Linked DNA regions of Homo sapiens: region 1 is linked to region 2. Evidence: promoter capture Hi-C in human tissues and cell types (Jung and others, 2019). All regions are on one chromosome and are shown on one strand. Each heading gives the region's core, a stretch centred on a gene start or on the middle of the fragment in contact. The rest is flanking DNA. Distances are from core to core; before and after follow the strand shown.

Evidence for each region. Contacts are between HindIII fragments. The study calls those that stand out against the background at their distance.
Region 1: the fragment with the promoter of KREMEN2 here is called in contact with the fragment with the promoter of KCTD5 in region 2 in 3 of the 25 tissues and cell types used here (IMR-90 fibroblasts, mesenchymal stem cells and stomach).

What each region holds. Positions count from the first base shown.
Region 1 is chr16:2,962,963-2,965,725 of GRCh38, forward strand. It overlaps KREMEN2 (kringle containing transmembrane protein 2), which reads left to right and starts at 1,313. Exons shown (of 9, transcript NM_172229.3): 1 at 1,313-1,652; 2 at 1,897-2,071. The coding sequence starts at 1,559. RefSeq lists enhancers at 1-545, 32-161, 2,130-2,763, 2,692-2,763 and silencers at 242-321, 352-481, 1,032-1,111, 1,642-1,891, 1,962-2,331. The HindIII fragment of the contact is 31,540 bases long and covers 1-2,763 here.
Region 2 is chr16:2,681,214-2,683,913 of GRCh38, forward strand. It overlaps KCTD5 (potassium channel tetramerization domain containing 5), which reads left to right and starts at 1,310. Exons shown (of 6, transcript NM_018992.4): 1 at 1,310-1,587. The coding sequence starts at 1,336. RefSeq lists a silencer at 1,393-1,572 and enhancers at 1,668-2,278, 1,823-1,872, 1,943-1,992. The HindIII fragment of the contact is 14,940 bases long and covers 1-2,700 here.

The DNA of each region.
Region 1 (2,763 bases), core at 63-2,562, 280 kb after region 2:
AGGACCCTGGCCTAGAGTCTCAGCAAGTCCATCTCCTTCAAATGCCCCCACCTCGGCTCCACGCCCCTCCTCCAGAGCACACTCGCGTGAGGCGCCAGCTGGAAGATCCTCGCGGGTCCCAGCACCGCAGTGGGTGCCTGGGCCTGACAGAACCTCCCTGAACCCCATCTTTCTTCTCCATCGACACCGGGGCAGAGACGGTGTGGGGGCTGCAGGGCGGGGACTGGTCGGCCTGGGCTCGACAGCTTGGCGAGGGCCTGGTGCGGGCTGGGCAGGCTGGACTGAGGGGCAAAGAGGTCTGGGCGGGGCGGGGCCGCTCTGGGCGCCCGGCCCCCACCAGTTCCTTCCCCCGGCCCCCGCCTCCGCCCTCCCACGCACCTGCGCTGGCCTCCCCCCAAGCCCTGGGGGCAGCGGGCGGGTGGCGCTGGGAGATCAGAGGACTCGGAGGAGTCGGGCCCAGGGGGAGGGGGCGGGGAATTTCCCCCCACGCCTGCCTGGGCCTGCTCCCCTCCCCCTCCCCCGCCAGGTGGGGGGCACGGCTGGGGGAATTCCACTGCAGTGTGAAGGCTCGGGAGAGTCTGGGCTGGGGGTCCCAGGGAAGGGCGGGGCAGGGGGAGGAGGAGGGGACAGACTGGGACCTGGGGCGCAGCTGCCTTTCTCCCCAGACACCAGCTGCCCCTGCCTGTCCCGGACTGAGCGTCCACGACTCCCGCCTGTCTCGTGGGCGCGGGGGCAGGGAGTGGAGCTTCCTCCGTCAGGCCAGCGGCATCTGGACCAGGGGCGGGAGGGGCGTGCGGATCCGAAGAAAGTGTGCGCGTGAGCGCCTGGCAATGAATGGGAGAGAGTGCGAGCGCGTGCGTGCACTGGGAGGAGGGCGCTTGTAACTCGGACATTCCGGGTGTCCTGGGGCGCGTGCGACCACGTGAGGGGGTTCTGTATCTCCCATTTTAAGGGCCTTCCGTCCGCTTGCCCCGCCTGTCCCCCTCCACACCTTCCCACTTGAACCGGCACCGACCTGAGGGAGAGGGGGCCGGGAAGCGCTGGACGCCCGGGGTCGGGGGAACGGGCGTGGGAGGCGTCTGGACCTGCTGCCTCCGCTCCAGTGCTGGGCGGGGCTTCCCGGCCTCCCATGGGGGGAGGGAGAGACCCAGGGGGAGGGACCCACGGAGGGATGCGAGGCGGGCAGGAGTCAGCCCGTTGGAGACCTGGGCGAGGGAGACGCCGAGAGCTAGGCTCAGTGGGAGGGGGCGGGCGTAGAGGCTGAGGCACCGCCCAGAGCTCGCTGAGACAGAGACTGAGAACGCCCCCGGCCAGATTCCCCCCGGAGAGACCCGGGTAGGGACAGGGACAGAGAGACGCCTCTAGGGGCAGAGGCCCTGGGAGGCAAAGACCCCCAGGAGAGATTTACCCACCCCAGACGGAAAGCGCGGCTCAGAGTCGGACGAGGGGAGACTGTCAGAGGACAACGCCCCCTAGGTCTCCTGGGAGACCCCGAAGCGACCCCGGGGGCAGCCCGGGCCGTGTCCGGGCGAGGGTGACCTATCCTTGGTTGAGAGCGATGGGGACACAAGCCCTGCAGGGCTTCCTCTTTCTCCTCTTCCTCCCGCTGCTGCAGCCGCGTGGGGCCTCGGCTGGGAGCCTGCACAGTCCAGGTAAGTCCCCGCACGGCTGTCGGGCCGTGTTCACCACCCCTTCCTCGGCCTCCGCCCCCAGGGCCAGGCCCCCAAGGCTAGGGAGGGGGACAGAGCAGGTGGCCGGAGCAGCTGAGCAGCCCGAGGGCTCCTGCAGGGGCGGGTGCGGGGTCGCTGGCTGGGGACCCAGGCGGGAGGTGGCGTAGGGGCGCGAGGATGCCCGGCGTGGGTCCGGACCTCCCCAGGCCCTGCCTTTGCCGTGCAGGCCTGTCCGAATGCTTCCAGGTGAATGGGGCTGACTACCGCGGCCACCAGAACCGCACTGGCCCGCGCGGGGCGGGCCGCCCGTGCCTCTTCTGGGACCAGACGCAGCAACACAGCTACAGCAGCGCCAGCGACCCCCACGGCCGCTGGGGGCTGGGCGCGCACAACTTCTGCCGGTGAGGGGCGGGGCCTGCGCTGGGGGCGAGGCTGGGCTCACCATTGCAGGGATGGCCCGAAGCGGGGCCTCCGTGCGGGCGGGGTGGAGGTCTGCCGTGGACTGGCAGCCCAGCCTCCTGGAGAACCTGGGGGCGGGGCCAGAATGAGGGGCGGGGCGGGGCGGGGCGGGGCGCGCGGAACCCTGGCGCAAAAGGGATCCTCCTCAGGTGAACAATTTCTGCAGAGCTCCAGTTCAGGGCCAGGAGAGAAACGGACCTGGGCACTCAAAGGACCCGTATGGGCGGGGCCTGGTCAGAGCGGGGGCCGAATGGGCGGGGCCTTGTCAGAGTGGGGCTCTTGTCATACAACTTATTTTGGGGTTCAGAGCCACAGCTACGGTCTGAGGCAGGATGGACCCAGCGGGAGGAGAGCCGCAAAGCTCAGGAGCTCACTTCTGCTTTTAAGTGGGGTTGGAGGCCAGGCGCGGTGGCTCAGCCTGTAATCCCAGCACTTTGGGAGGCCAAGGCAGGCGGATCATCTGAGGTCAGGAGTTCGAGACCAGCCTGGCTACCATGGTGAAACCCCATTTCTACTAAAAATACAAAAAATTAGCGGGGCATGGTGGCGGGCGCCTGTAATCCCAGCTACTCAGGAGGCTGAGGCAGGAGAATCGCTTGAACCCGGGAGGCGGAGCTTGCAGTGAGCAGAGATC
Region 2 (2,700 bases), core at 60-2,559:
CAAATAATACAATGGTATTAGGATATACACTTTTGTGTTTTTAATCTTATAGAAGGTTATTTGCTGGCTATTGTTGGCCTCTAGTTCAGCCTGTTATTTAAATTCTTTTTTTTTCTTGAGACGGAGTCTCACTCTGTCGCCCAGGCTAGAGTGCAGTGGCCTGATCTCGGCTAACTGCAACCTCCGCCTCCTGGGTTTAAGCAATTCTCTGCCTCAGCCTCCGAGTAGCTGGGATTACGAGCGCCCACAACCACATCTGGCTAATTTTTTGTATTTTTGGTAGAGACGGAGATTCACCATCTTGGCCAGGCTGATGTTGAACTCCTGACCTCGTGATCCACCCACCTTGGCCTCCCAAAGTGTTGGGATTACAGACATGAGCCACCGCGCCCGGCCTAAATTCTAATATATGAATTATTTGTATTGAATTCATGTTCGGGGCCACGTTGTTATATGTATTGATATACAGCCTTGAATGTGAATAATTACTATATATTTTACAACTTTTTTCTGGCTTTATTACAAAAACTTTCTTTTTTTTTTTTTGAGACAGACTCTCGCCCTATCACCAGGCTGGAGTGCAGTGGCGAGATCTCAGCTCACTGCAACCTCTGCCTCCCGGGTTCACGCCATTCTCCTGCCGCAGCCTCCCGAGTAGCTTGGATTACCGGCGCCCACCACCGCGCCAGGCTAATTTTTGTATTTTCAGTGGAGACCGGGCCTCACCATGTTGGCCAGCGTGGTCTCGATCTCCTGACCGCCTGATCCTCCCGCCTCGGCCTCCCAAAGTGCTGGGATTACAGGCGTGAGCCACCAGGCCCCGCCCTTATTATATAAATTTTCTATTGGGTCAATGATTTAATCATATAATTTAATGAATCTGTTCTTTTTTTCCCCCCAAATATTTGTGCTTTAGGTGTAGTTACCAGATGATGAATTTTCCTCCTATGCTCCGTAGTCTTGTAATAAAAAGCATGTACAGTGTAGACGTTTGCTGGCATGGCTCTTCCTTTGACCAGTTCATGAACTGGAGTCAGGGTGGGGGTGAAGGCTAGGGTCGAGGTCTGGGTCAGGCGCTCGTGCACCGCTCGTGGGAGGTCGAGGCTGATGTCCGCTGCTCCCCATCAGCGTTAGTGCCCAGATCACCCCGTGCTCCGCTCCCGCCGGAAGCGGGCCCAGCCTCCTGCTTTTCGGGACCGGAACTTCCGCCTACCGCGTGACGCCGGGGCGGGCGCTCTACCAGGGCGGACCTGTGGGCGGGACAGAACTCAGAGGACGCTATTAAAAGCCGGACGCTTCCGGTGGAAGGGAGCTGTTGCGGGGCTTGCTGGGATCATGGCGGAGAATCACTGCGAGCTCCTGTCGCCGGCCCGGGGCGGCATCGGGGCGGGGCTGGGGGGCGGCCTGTGCCGCCGCTGCAGCGCTGGGCTCGGCGCCCTGGCCCAGCGCCCTGGCAGCGTGTCCAAGTGGGTCCGACTCAACGTCGGCGGCACCTACTTCCTCACCACTCGGCAGACCCTGTGCCGGGACCCGAAATCCTTCCTGTACCGCTTATGCCAGGCCGATCCCGACCTGGACTCAGACAAGGTGAGGGCCTCACGGGCCAGCCCGGAGGGTCCTGGCCTTCCCGGCCTGCGGCTCCTGCACACGCCCTGCTTCGTGCGGAGGAGACTTCAGCGGGAGCGGGCGACTCTCCTCGGGCTTCGAGCCCCGCGCTCCCTTGTCGCCAGCTCCTCCCCAGCTTGCCCCGATCCCCTACCCTGGGAGGGGAGGGTGAGGATGGCGCCCTGGCGTCCACTGCCTTTGAGGATCCTGAGTCGATTCACCTTGGGGGTGTCTCTTCCTCGCCCTCTTTGCTCTTTGGTGGAGGAGGCTTCCTAGACCCCGGACTTTGCTGTGATTCTACTTTCTTTTTCTCACTAGGTTCTTTTGCCCAGGGTGTGTGAACGCCTTCTCTTCTCTGTCCCAGGGTACTTGCTGGCTCTGGAAACAGAACCCTTGGCGTTGTTTCACATTCTGGACGTTTGAATTAACGCTGACGTGGGGGTTGATATGGGCGGCCCTTTTTTTCCCTGGTGACTTGCATTTAGAGAGTTGGCGCTCCATCCTTTCCATCCACAGCACGCAGCACCCACTCAGCACCTCTTAGAAGATGCGTCCGTAGTATATAGTATGATTTTTCGAAGGGGATTTTGCTCATATTAAGGGTTGCTTTAGGGATGTCCAGGAAGGGTCAGGTAAGGAATCTTTCAATCTGCTTTCTAATTGGCTTAGTTTTCCCACTGTCTTCGCAAAAGGACAGGAATTTCCAGGTTAGTTTGCAGCTTGTCTTTCATCAAGCGAAATGCTCATGCTGTTGGGTAGATGGTAATAGAAACCTTTTGCTACCTTTATTTATCAAGAGTTGTGGAGCCGAGGAACCGTGTCTTGGGAGTTGTGCAGGATTGAAACTCACAAAAAAGCCTGTTTGAAGAAGTTGTTACCTATATTTATTCAAGGCAGTTCACAAGCCTTATACTAACTTTGCGGGGTCTTTCAGTTGAGCTTACATGACTGCGCTTGGCTTTGTGCCTTGGCAGCCAACATTTGCCATGCAGGAGGCTTCCCAGAAAGGTTCGGATCCCTCTTCAAGTTTGAGAAGCCTGACTGAGACCATTCTCAGCATGGCATGACCGTGATCAGGAAGTGAGAATCTGGAGT